Regions from separate parts of the Homo sapiens genome. Here region 2 is linked to region 1. Evidence: promoter capture Hi-C in human tissues and cell types (Jung and others, 2019). All regions are on one chromosome and are shown on one strand. The core of a region is centred on a gene start or on the middle of the fragment in contact, and the rest is flanking DNA. Distances in the headings are between cores, read along the strand shown.

Region 1 (7,864 bases), core at 3,045-5,544:
GGGAACACGACCTCGCTTGGGAGGTCAGAGAAGATTTCTGTGGTCATGTGATGTTTGGACTCAATCTTAAGGGAGAGTAGAGTGAAGGGGGATGGGTGTTAACTGGGAAAAGCACTTAGGAGAGGGAACAGCATCTGCAAAGACTATGGTGGGGAAGGGCTGTGGCTGGATTGATGGGCAGGACTAGATCATGCCAGGCCTTGTGGGGTCCCCGCCCTCTCCATGGGAACTTTTGCTGCCTGCTTAGACCCACCTCCTGCCTCCTCTTCCTCCTCTTCTTCAGTACTATCTTCTTGTTTTTTCTCCTCCATCTCAATTCTCTTTCACACCAATTTCTGACTCTTCATTTTCACCCAAGGACATATTGTTACTCTATTAGCATTTGTTTTCCCACATGGACATAGAAACTCTCGTGGGCAGTGTTTAGTTTCACTATTGAATGAATATAGGGCCACAGCTAGCCTTACAGTGCCTTCACTCATATCAGCAAAAAGTACCCATTCTGGGCCGGGTGCAGTGGCTCACGCCTGTAATCCCAGCACTTTGGGAGGCCGAGACGGGTGGATCACTTGAGGTCAGGAGTTCGAGACCAGCCTGGCCAACATGATGAAACCCTGTCTCTACTAAAAATACAAAAAATTAGCCAGGTGTGGTGGCATGTGCCTGTAATCCCAGCTACTTGGGAGGCTGAGGCAGGAGAATCGCTTGAACCCAGGAGGCAGAGGTTGCAGTGAGTTGAGATCGTGCCACTGCACTCCAACCTGGGCAACAGAGCAAGATTCTGTCTCAAAAAGAAAAAAAAAAGTACCCATTCTGGGCAGATGTAGCCCCACAACAGGGCCCATTACAGTTCCTATTTACCCACTTGGCTGCACACCTTTGTTCAGTGAACAACCTGCGCAACTGTCCACTGCAGCCCTGAATGAATGAATGAATGGACAAAGGAATGTGATTAAGATGAATGATAAGCTCTCAGGCAGAGAAAAGATTTGGAATGGGAGTGGAAGCCAGAAGATGAGTCCTACTGAATTTGGAGGAGTGGACAGGTAAGCCACAAACTCCAGCTGCTGGTTCCAGAACCCCCAACACCTATTCTCAGAAGTCAAGCTGTTTGACTATTTCTGCCTATCCAAGCTGTTGTAGTCTCTCCGTGCCCAGGGAACCTTGTATGAGACTTGAGTTGTTTCTCTCCTCGAGTGTGACCAGCACCCTGAACTCTGTGTACATACAGTGAGATTATGGGCGCCTCCAAGGTTTTGCCAAGCCCAGAAGGCCTTGTGCCTGCTCCTCTTCTTAGCCATATGAGGAGATAGCCAGGCTCTAGACAAAGCAACTTGAGAGCATTTGCTAAAGATATCAAGGACTGCAAACTAAAACAGACCCAGGCAAATCCCTTAGTGGGAAGGAGAGGACACAGAATAAATAGGTGGATGACCAATCCTCCGCTGCTGGAGCCGCCCTGGAAGACTTTCTCAACATGCCATATATTCCTGCTTTCTGCGTGTCAGCCCAGCTCCTTCCAGTCCCTAGTCGGCCTTACCATCTCTTTCCTCAACCCCTTTGAGGAAGGAAGACTTATAGCTCTGGGTTAGTCTTGACCAAACATCTACAAAGGGTTGCTTGTTTCCCTTTTTTTCCCCCTTTGCTCATGAGCAAATCATCCAAGAAGCCAAAGCTCTGGTACTTAAAGGGCCCGAGGTAGGGAACAGACACTGAGGCAGCTCATGAAATGCGATTTGTCACGGATGCTGACAAATCCATGGACAGGCAAGGCCTTGGAAAAATCCTGCCACTAGGGCTGGCCACCTGCCAGCTCTGAAGTCAGTGGAGTTTTGAAGCCTTTCTCATCGGACAGGGAGTTTCCAAGTGCAAACCTGGTGTACTCTCCCCTCAAATGGGAGGTCCCTGGGGTGGCTGTGGAGGCTGCTCCTCTATCAGACCTCAGCTCCCCAAGGGCCAAGTCATGTCTCTCTCTTTAGATTGGGAGCACACCAGAAATAGTAATAAGAGAAATGGCTACCACTTATTTCATGCTTACCAAGTGTCTGAAATGGCTGTGTTTTTTAAAAGAAATATATTAATTTATCTTAATTCTCATAACAACACTAAGAGAGACGTCTTAACGTTATTCTCATTTTCTACATGCAGAGACTGAGACATGGAAGTTGAATCATGTGCTCAAGATTGCACGGCTAGGTGGTGGAGGCAGGATTCTCTATCAGACTGAGAACAATACCCGGACAGGGACTATTCTTCCCCACACCTCTATCAGATTAAGAGTTTACTGAGGGCCAAGATTGGGCGTCCCTCCTCTGTCCACCCCTATCTCCCTGTGCGGATCAGAGATAGACCTTATTCAGTGCTGTGCCTGGAGCCTGGGTTGGGGCCAGGCAGTTGGCCTGACTACCGTGGATGCAATTTCTGTTCTTTACAACTCTGAGCTGGTCCCACAGAAATATGCCCCACAGGGCATATTTTGGAGATATCTTTTGGAGATAGGGGATCTATCTGGGATGGGGGTCAGGATGCCAGTGTTTTTTCAATCCCCCAGATGCCTGGATGAGAGGCCCCAATGTGCTTGGGAGCCTGCGGACCCCTATCACAGGGAACATAGCTTCCGGAGCCAGGCCTGGTGCCGCCCAGTGAGCTGGGCATTTCCTTCTGTCCACAGCTCACCTCACTCCTGGCTGCAAACCCAGCCATGAGTTTCTGGAACCTAGCAACTCTCACAGGAAACAATGGAAACTTCAGTTTTATTCTCCTCCTCTATCATTACTCAAAAGGTTTTCCTCAAAGCTACACACACATAGTTTTCCTCTCCACCCATCAGCCTCGGGCTGCCCTGGAAATTTCAGGCAGAAGAGGGGAGCTGAAGAGTAGGCAGTGAATAGGTCTGGGGGCTTGGTGCTGTTTGCTGCCTGCGGTTGGGTCAGAGACAGATCATGGGGCTGTGATTTTACCACCCACCCGAGCATCTGTGATGGGGCTTTGGCAGGGTCTGTCTGTCTGGGCCTGAGTGTGTGAGTTGGTGTGGTTCTGGCTCTGGGGCTGTGATTTATGTGACTCAAAGTTGGTGTGTGAGTGATTTACATGGAAAATGGTGCAGGTGGGGTGGGCAGCTCAGTTCAGTACCCAGTGCCCACTATGAGGCACTGTGATTAGTGGGTGAGAACAGGTAAAAGATACAGGCTGAGGCTGGGTGCGGTGGCTCAATGCCTGTAATCCCATCACTTTGGGAGGGCAAGGCGGGCAGATCACAAGGTCAGGAGTTCGAGACCAGCCTGGCCAACATGGTAAAAACCCCATCTCTATTAAAAATACAAAAATTAGCCAGGCGTGGTGGCACGCCTGTAATCCCAGCTATTCAGGAGGCTGAGGCCGGAGAATTGCTTGAACCCGGAGGCGGAGGTTGCAGTGAGCCAAGATCCCACCACCGCACTCCAGCCTGGGGACAGAGCGAGACTCCTTCTCAAAAAAAAAAAAAAAAAAAAAAACAAGCTGGTAAGCATGTAGGCAATGATGTGGGCCTGTGTGTGAAATGTGCGTGCCTGCGAGGAATCTATGTGAAAAGGCGTCCTCCCGCTCCGTGACTTGTTGGGATGTATGCGTGAGTGAGGGGCTGAGTGTGGTGTGAGGGCTGTCTCCTGTGTCCCTGGTGGAGGTGAGAGTTTGGAAGCGAGTTAAGTGTGCATGTGAGCCGGTGAGGATTGTTGGTACTTCAGAGTTGGGTCCAGAGTGTGAAAGTGTTCCCGGGTAGCGCACAAGTGTGTTCGTGCAGTAAAGTTATGGTGTGAAGGTGTTCTTGGGTGTGGAAGTTGGCGTGCACGTGTGGCGCGGAGCGGCAGCTGCGTGCGTGTGAGCGTGGGAAGGAGATCCCGGGATCTTCAAAAGCTGCGCGAGTGGAGTCGGCCGTGCGGGGCGTGCAGGGGCGTGGAAGTCGGCGGCGCGCGCGGGGAAGCGGGGGAGCCGGGGATCGGGGAGGCGAGAGCGCCTGGCCCGGCGGCCCCATCCCATGCCCGGGCCCGGGCCCCCGGTCCCCCGCCCCGTCCCATCCCATACTCCAGGCCGGGTTTGGCGGGGAGCCGGGCCGGGCCGCGGCCCGCGCGGAGGGGGCTGGGGGCCCAGACAAAGGCCTAGTAGGCTGCGCGGCCGGCTGGGGCGAGCAGAGCCCGCGGCCCGGGGGCGGTCCGTGGGCGGGGCCTGGCGCTCCGGGGAGGGGCGGTTCGGGGGCGGGGCCGGCGCTGCGGGGGCGGGGCGGGCGGGGAGGAAAGGGGGCGGTGGGGAGAGGGCCGCGCTGTCCCGAGCTGGCCGGCGAGCGGGCGGCTGCGGGCGGCGCGGAGCGGGCGGCGCGGAGCGAGCGAGCGAGAGAGCGGCGCGGGCCGGGCCATGGGGTGGCGGGCGGCGGGCGCGCTGCTGCTGGCGCTGCTGCTGCACGGGCGGCTGCTGGCGGTGAGTGTGCGGGGCAGAGGGGCGGGGGGCGGGGGCGGAGGGGCTAGGGGCGCCCCGGTCCCGCTCGCCGCCTCCCGCCAACTTGGCTGGGGCGCCCAAGGCTGCGCGGCGGGGACTCTGGCCCGGGACGGCGGCGCCCGCCGGGGACCCCGGGCCGGCGCCACCCTGCGGCATGGGGCTAATCCAGGGGGGCCACCAGTCAGGACCCTTCGTGGGGCTGGGGGCGGGGCTGGCCCGTGTGGGAGCCCGTGGGTCTCTCGGCCACGTTGCCGAGTGCTGGAGTCTCGCTGGGCATGGTCCGGCCTACCATTCCTGGGGACCAGGAGGGGAAACTTTGAGCAGGGTGGGAACTTGGCAGGACGAGGGAACCCTTCTGCGCCAGCTTGGCAGAACGGCCACTCAGTGGTGATGGGGACCCTATGAGTCTCGCTGAAACTTTACCACACCGTCTATCACCTTGGGGAGCTTGGACCCAGGTAGGCACAAGCAAAACTTTTGGGACAGAACTGAAGCTTGTGTGGAACACCCACGGGCCTTGGAGTCATACAGCCGAAGAGTTGAATCAATCCCTGCCTTTCACTGAGTAACTGTGTGACCTGGGGCACGCTAGTTAACCTCTCTGAGGCCAGCCCCACGTGGGTCAAGGGAACTCAAAATGCACGGCCTCAAAATGCATAGCTGCAGGGCGTTGCTGGACTGCGTGGAATGAGCTGCAAAGTGCGTGGTGCGGGGATGCAGTGCACCCTTGGGGGACCCGAGTTCCCCAGCTTTCCTCTTCCCAGGTCTCCAAGAGGCAGGGAGAGGCCTGCCCTTGCAGTCTAGTCCCCTACTCTGAGCTTAGGTGGAGGAAAAGGGAATTCTACGGTCAGGAATCCCGAGGCTTAGAAGGCACTTGGCCAGCAGAGGCCCTGAGGACCTGAGTGAACTTGAGGAGGACTGGGTGGGGTCGGTGGGCAGGGAGCTAGTGGCAGATGTGGGTGGGGGCACATCTGGGGAGCCGAGCCTACCGTGGGGAGCCACAGAGCCACCCCCACTCTCTCCGAGGTGCTCCTAGGCAGTCCCCATACCTGCCTCCCTGTTCTCTGAGCCAAGAGAGGGACTTTTCTAACCAGGCTGGTGTTTACCCAGGAACTGCCTGCCTGGCCTCACCTTCCTGGCTTCATCGCACCTCTACCCTCCTGAGTCACTCGTCAAGCCCCCACCCAGACCTGGCTCCTCACTGCTCTTGCCCCACCCACCCAGCACTTCTCCTCCCCCATCCCCACTCTGGGCAGCCTCCTCTGTCGTCCTCCTGTTTCAGCCTCTCACCCCAAAATATTCAGCAGGGCCATCCAGTAGCTCCCTAGTCTTGACCTGAACTTGCACTCCTGGCACTGACTTTTACTTTTCCCAACGCACCAACCTAGCACGTGGGATGTTTTCCGAGGCCCAACAGTCTTTCCTGACCTTCCCCCAGCTCTGCCCCCGATGAGGGGCTCCTCCATGCCCGGGTGCGGTAGGATGGCGGTGGGTGGAGTTGTTTGCTGTGTGCATGAGGAATTTCCACAGACATTCCTGGACCGTGGCAGATCATCTCATTCACTTGTTCATTCAACAGATCATCACTGAGCGACATTCCATGGCAGTCACTGGGAGTACAGAGGTTCATTCTTTGGGCAGATATTTGCCATGCACCTACTGTGTGCCAGTGAACCAGTGAACCTCGTGTGGTGCTAGGGGCTGGGGTGGGTTGGACCAGCAAGGACAGGCCCTGTCTGTGCCTTCCCAGCACTCACAGGCTGGTGGGCGGTAATTTAGACAAATAAACAGGCAGCTCCAATCCTGTGGGATTAGAGAGCCTTCTCAGCAACACATGGAGGGTCGCTGTCCCACCCCAGGCTGCTGGTGGTGGGCTGGAAAGAGCTTGGCCCCTGAAGTCTCTTTATAAAATTCTTTTTAAAAAGTTTTTCAGGCCAGGCGCGGTGGCTCATGCCTGTAATCCCAGCACTTTGGGAGGCCACGGTGGGCGGATCACGAGGTCAGGAGTTTGAGACCAGCCTGGCCAACATAGTGAAACCCCATCTGTACTGAAAATACAAAAATTAGACGGGTGTGGTGGCGCATGCTTGTAATCCCAACTACTCGGGAGGCTGAGGCAGGAGAATCGCTTGAACCCAGGAGGCGGAGGTTGCAGTGAGCTGAGACCACACCATTGCACTCCAGCCTGGGTGACAGAGTGAGACTCCGCCTCAAAACAAACAAACAATAAAAAGTTTTTCGGGGCCAGGCGCGGTGGCACACGCCAGTAATCCCAGGACTTTGGGAGGCCGAGGCGAGCGGATCATGAGGTCAGGAGTTCAAGATCAGCCTGGCCAGCATAGTGAAACCCTGTCTCTACTAAAAATGCAAAAAGTTAGCCAGGCATGGTGGCACGTACCTGTAGTCCCAGCTACTCCGGAGGCTGAGGCAGGAGAATGGCGTTAACCCGGGAGGCGGAGCTTGCAGTGAGCCGAGATCGCGCCACTGCACTCCAGCCTGGGCGACAGAGCAAGACTCTGTCTCAAAAAAAAAAAAAGAGGGCATCACACTTTGTTGCCCAGGCTGGTCTCAAACTCCTGGCCTCAAGCGATCCTCTCGCCTCGGTCTCCTAAAGTGTTGGGATGACAGGCATAAGCCATCATGCCTGGCCTGTCTCTGAAGTCTTACAGACCCAAGTATGAGTCTCTGGGCTGCGGTTTCTGGCTGTGTGATCTGGGGCGAGTTCCTCTCTCTGAGCCTTAGTTTCCAAATCTGTACAATGGGGTTGAGGAGTTTGTTGCAAGTCAAAAATGAGATCAATTCCTAGCCCAGGCTCCCAGCACACCTTGGACCCTCTTTGCCTGCTACCCTTGCTCTCATCTGCCCTTCAGTTTGGTCCGGAGCCAGTGGCTTATGGGGAAGGGTTGGGCACAGCAGCAGGGTGAGATGGGCCTTAGGGAGCTCCAGGCTTCCCCGGGACGGGGGACAGGACCACAGGAAGCTGATCTGTGATTAAGTGTGGGTGTAATTTCAGCTGTTGGGAGGTGAGGAGGCTTGCTGGAGGAGGGGGCTGGGCCTGGGTGACTCGGCAGGCCTTGGCCTGCTGACCCCTTTAGGGCGGCCCTGCAGGGGACAGGCGTCTTGAGGGAGCCTCGGTGGTGATTAAGGTGTTTTCCAGGGCCTAGGAGGGAAGTCGCTGAGATACCTGTTTCCTGCCTCAGCTGGATTTCCTCACTGGGGAGGCTGCCAGCTGAACTGCAGGAGCCTCCCCTTCCTGGCGGTCCCTCAGCCCTCCTCCACGCAGCCAGCTGCTCTGTCACCTGACACTAGCCTACTTGTTCCGTACCTGCAGCCGGCACAGGATGGGGTTTTGAGTGTGCCCTGGACATTCCCGGAGGGAAGGAGGGCAGGCTGCAGG
Region 2 (7,864 bases), core at 3,448-5,947, 300 kb after region 1:
CTTTACAAAACAGGATTAAGAGGTTAGGACTTGGATTAAAGGAGCAGTGAGTCCTGGTAGAGGCCAGATGTGATCATGGCTGAGTTCCCCTACACATCCCTAACCCCTCTCAGCAGGTTGTCTGCAGTGGAGGACCTCAGAGTAGGTGTGCAGATGCAAGAGGAAGGAGGCCCAGTGTGAGGGTTGGGAGCCAGTGGGACAGTGGGTGACTGATTATGCAGCCCTAAGGGACCCAGATATCCTAGAATGGGGGCTGGACATTTAAAGTGTATTCAAATGGATGGTGGGAGGTAGAGAGGTGTCAGGGTAGAGGAATGGTCAAGTGGACTTGTGCAAGGTAGGAGCGTTCTGAAAATACCTCTGGGAAGAGGAGAGTCAACTTTGGCCTTAAAACTAGGAGCCTGGGAGGTGGAGGCAGAACCCAGAAAGGATTAAGAGCTGACAGCATGCCAGGCATTTTACTCTGAAGGTCTCATTAAATCATGGCATCAGTCCTGCAATTTGGCCTGTTGTTGCCAGTTTAGAGGCCAAAACCAGGACTGAGAGTGGTGGAGGCTCTGGCTCAAAGTCACAGCTGGTGAAGGCTGGATTTGAATCCAGCTCTTCTGCTGAGGAAGGGACCTAGGTCAGAGACAGTGAAGCTGCAGAAATGGGGAAGGTCTTGGTTATGAGTTAAGGGAGGAGCGGGGAGTGATGTAGCCCTGAATGCCACCCAAACGGGAGTCACTGCTCAGTCCATGTGTCCTGCTGGGAAGGCCCATCTGGGTGCTGAGATGTTTCCTCTTGACAGAATTGGTACCAGTCTCTCCCATATATGGAGCACTTCCTGTATCCCAGGCCCTGGGCCCAGCACTTCCCCTGAATCATTTCATTCCATCCTGACACCAGCCTTACAGATGACTGTTTGTCCCTTACTACTGTCCATCCCCATTTTACAGATGAGGGAACTGACGCTCAGAGAGGGGAAGTGGTGGCCCAGGGGCATGCAGTCAGTGAGGGGTGAACCAAGACTGACAGTAATGCCACTCTGAGCCCATGCCTTTAGCCCTCGATCTCCTGGATGCTGCTTGTGCTGAGTGGTGGGCTGGGGTGGGTGGCCCTGTCCTCAGGTGGCTCCTTATGGCAGTCACTGAGCCAGAGGCCCTGGGGCCTGTGTGCTGCTGCAGGAAGCACAAGGCTGGCCTCATTAGTGGCTCTGAAATGCCAAGCAGGCACAGCCCGCTGGGCCTCCTCATCTATTATGCATCTGGTGGGCAGGCCCCCGACGGGCAGCTGGCAGTGTATGGGATGGGGGAGCTAGCAGCTGCTTCCTGAGCCCATGGCCGCCACTATACCTCTGGGCAGGGATCTCCCAAGGCAAATGCCAAGGCCTCCTGCCTCATCCCCTTGGCCAAGCCAGGGTGAGGGGGTTCTACTGGGGACAGGGGCATGGATGCTAGTCCCCAGCTCATTAGCCTGGCTATCCTAGCAGCCACTTCTCTTTATTTTATTTTATTTTTATTTTTATTTTTATTTTTTGAGACAGGGTCTCACTCTGTCACCCATGCTGGAGTGCAGTGGGGCAATCTCAGCTCACTACAGCCTCGACCTCCTGGGCTCAAGCGATCCTCCTCCCTCAGCCTCCCAAAGTGCTAGGATTACAAGCGTGAGCCACCATGCCCAGCCCCTGGCAGCCACTTCTAAGAGAGGCTGAGACTTCGATTGAGCTGGGGGTCATTTGGGACCAGAATGGGCAGAGGTGGGCTGAAATAGAATCTTAGATGCCCAAGCTCCTGGCTGTACAGAGCCTCAGAGCGATAGAGCTGTGGTCATTTGTTCATCATTTATTCATCCAGCCACAGTAACCACTGAACACGTACTGTAGGCCAGGCATGGTTTTAGTTACTGCAGATTCAGCAGAAAATGAGACAGGCCTAGCCGCTATACTCAGAGAGCTTGGTTTGGGCAGTACTTCACCTCACTGAGCCTGGATTTCCTCAACTGTAAAATTGGGAATGGCGGAGGCAGACTATAAGTAAATAGACAAGGAAACAACCTCTGATGGGTACACTGAATTTCTTTCTTTCTTTCTTTTCTCTTTTTTTTTTTTTTTTTTTTGAGACAGGGTCTCACTCTGTTACCCAGGCTGGGGTGCAGTGGCGCGATCTCGGTTCACTGCAACCTCCACCTCCGTGGTTCAAGCAATTCTCTGCCTCAGCCTCCTGAGTAGCTGGGATTACAGGCGCCTGCCACCACACCCGGCTAATTTTTTTGTGTATTTTTAGTAGAGATGGGGTTTCACCATCTTGGCCAGGCTGGTTTCGAGCTCCTGACCTTGTGATCCTCCTGCCTTGGCCTCCCAAAGTGCTGGGATTATAGACGTGAGCCACCGCGCCCGGCCAGGTCCACTGAATTTCAAAGCAAGGTTACATGCTAACAAGAGCTGGTCCTTGCCGAGAGCTGAGCGCGTGCCAGGCTGTGTTTCAGAGCACTTTGCCCACGTTCATGGGTTTGATCTTCACAACAGCCCTGTGAGGCAAGACCGTTATGAACCCTGGTTTAGGGCTGGGGAGGCTGAGGCAAAGAGAGGTTAAGTAACCTGTTCAAGGTCCCTTGGCAAAGCTGAGATTGGAGCTTAAGTAGCCAGGCTCCAGTTTGCTTGTCACCCTGCGCTGTATGGCTGGAAAATGAAGGAGTCCTGGAAAGCCTTTCTGAAGAGGGGGTGTTTGAACCAAAACCTGAAGGATGAGAGGAGCTGGCCATGGGGGAGCTGGCAGGGTGTCCAGACAGAGGGAGCAGCAGGTGCAAAGGCTCTGAGGCAGGGATGAGCCTAGTGCCAGAGAGACGCCCTGCTTCCAGGAAGGATCCTCTATAGCTTCAGGAGACAAGAGAAAAATCCCCTCCACATGCGTTGTGGCTCTGGGACTGCCACTGTTTGGCTGTGTGATCTTGAGAAATGGGTCCCCATCTCACTTGTGCACAACTCTGCTATCCCACGTCTATCCTCAGCATCATGAAGAGAGGACTCTTGCCGCCCTGAGGTCCCTGGTCTGGTTGGCCCTGTGTGCCCCTATCTCCTGGTGATGCTCAAACTCTGGTCTATTTGTCTGAGATGCATGGGAATATTTGAGTTCTGTTAGGTAGACCTGAGTTCAAATACCCAGTTCAACTTCCACTTACTTGCTGTGTGGCCTTACCCCAACTACTCTGCCTCTCTGAACCCCAGATTGTCCATAACAATGGAAACAGTATTGCTTCGAATGAAATGAGTGCAGAGTGTATGCGCAGGGGGATGTTCTCCCTTCTAACTAAGCATTTGCATTTTGAGAGGAAAGACTCATTCATCCAAAGAGAGATTCTCTAGTGATAGAATTTTAGGCACTGTCGTGGCCACAGGGGGTGAGTAGATGGCTAAGGAGGGGATTTTCTTTTTTTCTTTTTTCTTTTTTTTTTTTTTTTTTTGAGACGGAGTCTTGCTGTCTCGCCCAGGCTGGAGTGCAGTGGCACGATCTTGGCTCACTGCAACCTCCACCTGCCAGGTTCAAGCATTCTCCTGCCTCAGCCTCCTGAGTAGCTGGGATTACAGGCGTGTGCCACCATGCCCAGCTAATTTTTGTATTTTTAGTAGAGATGGGGTTTCACCATGTTGGTCAGGCTGGTCTCGAACTCCTGACCTCATGATCCGCCCGTCTCGGCCTCCCAAGGTGCTAGGATTACAGGCGTGAGCCACCACACCCAGCCTCGGAGGGGATTTTCTGATAGCCCAGATCCTGGAAAGGCCTTCTGAGTTCAGGATCTTCCCCAAAATTCATTCATTCAGCAAACTAATTCAATAAGCATTTAGTGTGGGGACACCCTCCTAGGGCCAAACCCTGTGCTGGGCGTTGGGGACTTGGTGGAGAAAATAGATGAGGCCACTTCTTCTGGGTTCAGAGTCTAGAGAGGGTCATAAGGAAAGAGGTGGTTTGATGGGAATGACATGTGCTGACTAGGGAGATGTGAGGGTTGCTGAGATCTCAGAGAAGGGACTCCTGCCCACATCTGGGAATCAAGGAGGGCTTCCTGGAGGAGGTGACTCAAAAGTTGAAGTGGGCCAAGTGGCAGTGTGTGTGTGTGTGTGTGTGTGTGTGTGTGTGTGTGTGTAGTGGGGAAGGGAGGTGCACTGTGCGAGAATGTTCCAGGGACAGGAGGTGGCAGGTCAGCAATGTGGAGGAGAAAAGTGTGTGGTGGCACATGCTGGATTCAAGACTGAGTTGGGCCTGACAGGTGAAGGGAAGAGAGACAGCCACCAGATCATGTCCCTGTAGGCCCTGCTGGGACTTCTGTGGGCTACGCTGGAAGGCTCTGAACCCCCCAGCCACCATGGGAAGAGGCCTGCTAGGGTGCCAGTCGCCCATCCTCCTCCCTGCTCCAAGGAGCTGCTGTGTGAGACTGAGTCAGCCGCAGCTCAGGGAGGCCCTGACTGTGCTCTTAGTGCAGGGCTGTGGAAGCCCTGGAGCCAGAGTCTGGGCTGGGACCGCAGATGCTGTCTCGGCCACCAGCTGGCTGGGTGACTTCTCTGGATCTCAGTTTCCTCACCTGTAACATGAGGGCAATAAAAGTACTACCTGGAAGATTGGTGGGGGGATTAAATGAGATAATGGGTGCCAAGGCCTGAAACCAGGGCCTGGCACAGAGCACGTACTCCGTCGATGCCAGCTATTGCGGTTACTGCCATCATCGCGGTCATGGTTACCTGCTGCGCCTGCAGTGGGTGCGGAATTGCGCTTGGTGTGTAGACTCTGTCCTCTGGAAGCTTGCTGCCTGCCAGGGGGTGACCTGACTGCCTACACGTGACTGTACACCCCAGCCGTGGGCACTGGCCTTAGGCACTGGCCCTGAGAACACTGGCTTTGGAGTCTGATGGGCCTGGTGCCAGGTCCTGGCCAGTGACCTTGAGGAGTCCGTCACCTTGCTGAGCCTTGGCTCATTCCTTTGTGCAGTGGGGGTGTTCATGGCCCCTGCCTCACGGTGAGTGAGAGGCAGTGAGGAGGTGCTTTTAAAGGGCCGGCCGGTGTAACAATGCAGCTGTTTCTGACCCCATGCTGCAGGAGGGAAGAAACACATGCCTCGGACCCAAGTGACCTAGAGAAACATCACCCTCCCTCTCAGAGGCTCATTTTCATACCTATGAAATGGGAAGGTTGGCTGTGATACACTCTGATGTGCTGGGGTTCTAGTGGAGTTAGCTTGTCCCTAAGTTTGACCTGGTCCAGCTGTTTGCTGTGTGACATTGGGCTAGAGACTTAACCTCTCTGAACCTCAGTTTCCATGCCTGCAAACGGGCAATGTTCACCTCCTGGGATCTTTCAGGGCTTCCATTAGCCACTCGTTAATTCAACAAATACTTACGGAGTTCCTACCACATGCCAGGTACTAGTCTAAGAACTGGGGATGCAGCAGTGAACCTGACAGACACGGTCCTTGCTTCACGCATGTTATCCTCCAGTGCAGGAGACAGACAGCTAAGGTAGCTTCAGATGGGTAATGTGTAGTACGGATGGGGTGGGTGCAAGGCCTGGCTTTGCCAAGGGTATCAGGGAGGGGCCTCTCTGAGGCCTGAATGGGAAGGAGCTGGCTGTGGGAAGAGTAGTCCAGGCAGAGGGTAGAGAAAATGTAAAGGATTGGGGGCAGGAATAGGACTCCTTCCCCCGCCCCAAAGCTGGAACATTCCAGATCATCTCCTGGCAACAGGTGGAGGTGGCTGAGAAGGCAGAGAGGCTGGAAGCCCACTTCTTTCAGATCAGGAACTGCTCCCCAGTCAGGTGTGGTGGCTCATGCCTGTAATCCTAGCACTCTGGGGAGGCCGAGGTGGGTGGATCACCAGAGGTCAGGAGTTTGAGACCAGCCTGGCCAACATGGTGAAACCCTATCTTTACTAAAAATACAAAAAAAAAAAAAAAAATTAGCTGGGCGTAGTGGTGCATGCCTGTGATCCCAGCTACTCAGGAGACTGAGGCAGGAGAATCGCTTGAACCCAGGAGGTGGAGATTACCATGAGCCGAGATCACACCACCGCACTCCAGCCTGGCCAACAGAGCAAGGCTCCATCCCACACACACACAAAAAATAACTGCTGCCCACAAGACAGGCCCGGTGGGGTGGTGGGGAGTGTGGGCAGCCATGGAAGACCAGGCTTGGCTTGAGTCTCAAGTGAGCTGGGCTGTGCAGGCAGGAGGCTGGGCTCCAACCTGTAGGAGCAGGCAGGGGTGGAGCTCACTGCAGGGCAGAGTCAGGCCTCCAGCCTGGAGCCCACCTGACTGGATCTACCTGGCGCAAAGACCCTGGACCTATTTTAGTCGGGGGTAAGGGAACTGCTGCTTGTTCTCCCCTCACCCCAGCCAGCCTAGGCACTGGCCCCAGGTTGCCTTGGCCTTTCCCAGCCCAGCTGCCTGCAGGCTGAGGAAAGGTTCTTTGAGATGACCCATTACATGTACACACACACATATTTCCCTACTCACACTCATAGACTTGACCCTTGTAGAGACAGCTTCATCATGAACATAGAGGCACAGACATACACATTCATTCATGCAGCAGATCAGACCCAAACAGACCCAGGCATGACCTGAAGAAACCCCATTTCTAGCAGGAGAGACTGACAGTGGCTTAATGGTCACACCATGAAATGTGCAAACGCAACAGGTAAATCCATGAAGGCCCAAGACAGGCTTCTGGGAAAGCTGGTCAGGTTCGGAGCAGCTTCTCCTGGTCTGGGGAGGGGGCTCTGGAAGACTGAATACAGACATAGCACCTGAAATGTGATCCAAGCGGACGGGAAGGGGGTAACAGGCAGGGGGCACAGCGTGTGCAGTGGCCTGGAGGTGGGAAGGAGCACCTCGGGTTTGAGGAGCGGAAAGGAGTCTGGAGAAGGAGGAAAGAAGCCCTGGATGAGGCCAGAGACAGTGGGCGGGTGGGAGGGGGGCCGGGGATGGGGAGCAGACACGCAGGGCCTCGTGGGCCACGTGAGGCGGGCGTCTGGATCCTGCTTGCGGCGGGAAGCCATTGGGGCCTTCTAGGCAGGTGGGTGGTGTGATCAGATCCAAACATGCGACACAAGCGCTTTCCCTCCCACACCCATTCACGCTCCTGCCGGGGCCTCCCATCTCCATTCTCACCCACAGAGTCACACACACCCTCTCGCACCACCAGGCAGAGCTGCGGAACACCCGGTGCCGACTCCCAGGAAAAGTGTCAGACGCTGCCCCGCCCACCGGCTGAGTCTGTGCGGCAGGGCCCTGGGGTCCAGCCAGGGTGGATCCTTGCTCACTCCACATCCGCACAGATGTGCCTGTGCCCCCCGCCTGCCCCCACAGGAGTGAGGTCATAACTCTTCTCTACACGTGCAAGGTGGCTTCTAGCTTAGGACGTACTTTCACGTGCATTCTCTCATTTAATGCTCTCAGCAGCCCTGCAGGGAGAAATTCTCAACACCATTTTATAGCCGAGGAAACAGAGGCTGAGAGAGGTGAAGGGACTCTCCCTAGGCCACACAGCTAGAGCTTGGCACAGGCAGGATTTGAACTCAGTTCCGTTTGACTTTCAGGTCTTGTTCTCTGGCCCATCCAGACTCAGACACACTCAGGTGTGACTGTCACCTTTCCAGGCTGTCACTGAGAAGGTGACAAGTGACCTTCAATGCCAAATCCATCCACAAACAGGTTGATCAACACAGAAAGTTATTTAGAGCTCCAGGGAAGGGCCTGGGCTGGGACGTGCCCACCTGCCTGGTGACCCTGAGGCTTCTGGGGGTAGTGCCAGGGGTGGGGCTGGGCACCTGCCAGCCTGGGGCAGCTCAGGGCATGGAGCCCGCGCTAGGAGCAGAGCCTACATTTGCATTTACAAA

The links. Contacts are between HindIII fragments. The study calls those that stand out against the background at their distance.
Region 2: a fragment that was not itself captured here is called in contact with the fragment with the promoter of HSPG2 in region 1 in 1 of the 25 tissues and cell types used here (dorsolateral prefrontal cortex).

Annotation. Positions count from the first base shown.
Region 1 is chr1:21,933,740-21,941,603 of GRCh38, reverse strand. HSPG2 (heparan sulfate proteoglycan 2) reads left to right here and starts at 4,294. Exons shown (of 97, transcript NM_005529.7): 1 at 4,294-4,449. The coding sequence starts at 4,387. RefSeq lists a silencer at 3,906-4,255 and an enhancer at 5,003-5,844. The HindIII fragment of the contact is 19,449 bases long and covers 1-7,864 here.
Region 2 is chr1:21,639,134-21,646,997 of GRCh38, reverse strand. The region is part of intron 2 of RAP1GAP (RAP1 GTPase activating protein); the gene reads left to right. Among named protein-coding and RNA genes, the nearest start is that of RAP1GAP, 26 kb to the left of the region's middle. RefSeq lists an enhancer at 6,527-7,356. The HindIII fragment of the contact is 7,278 bases long and covers 1,059-7,864 here.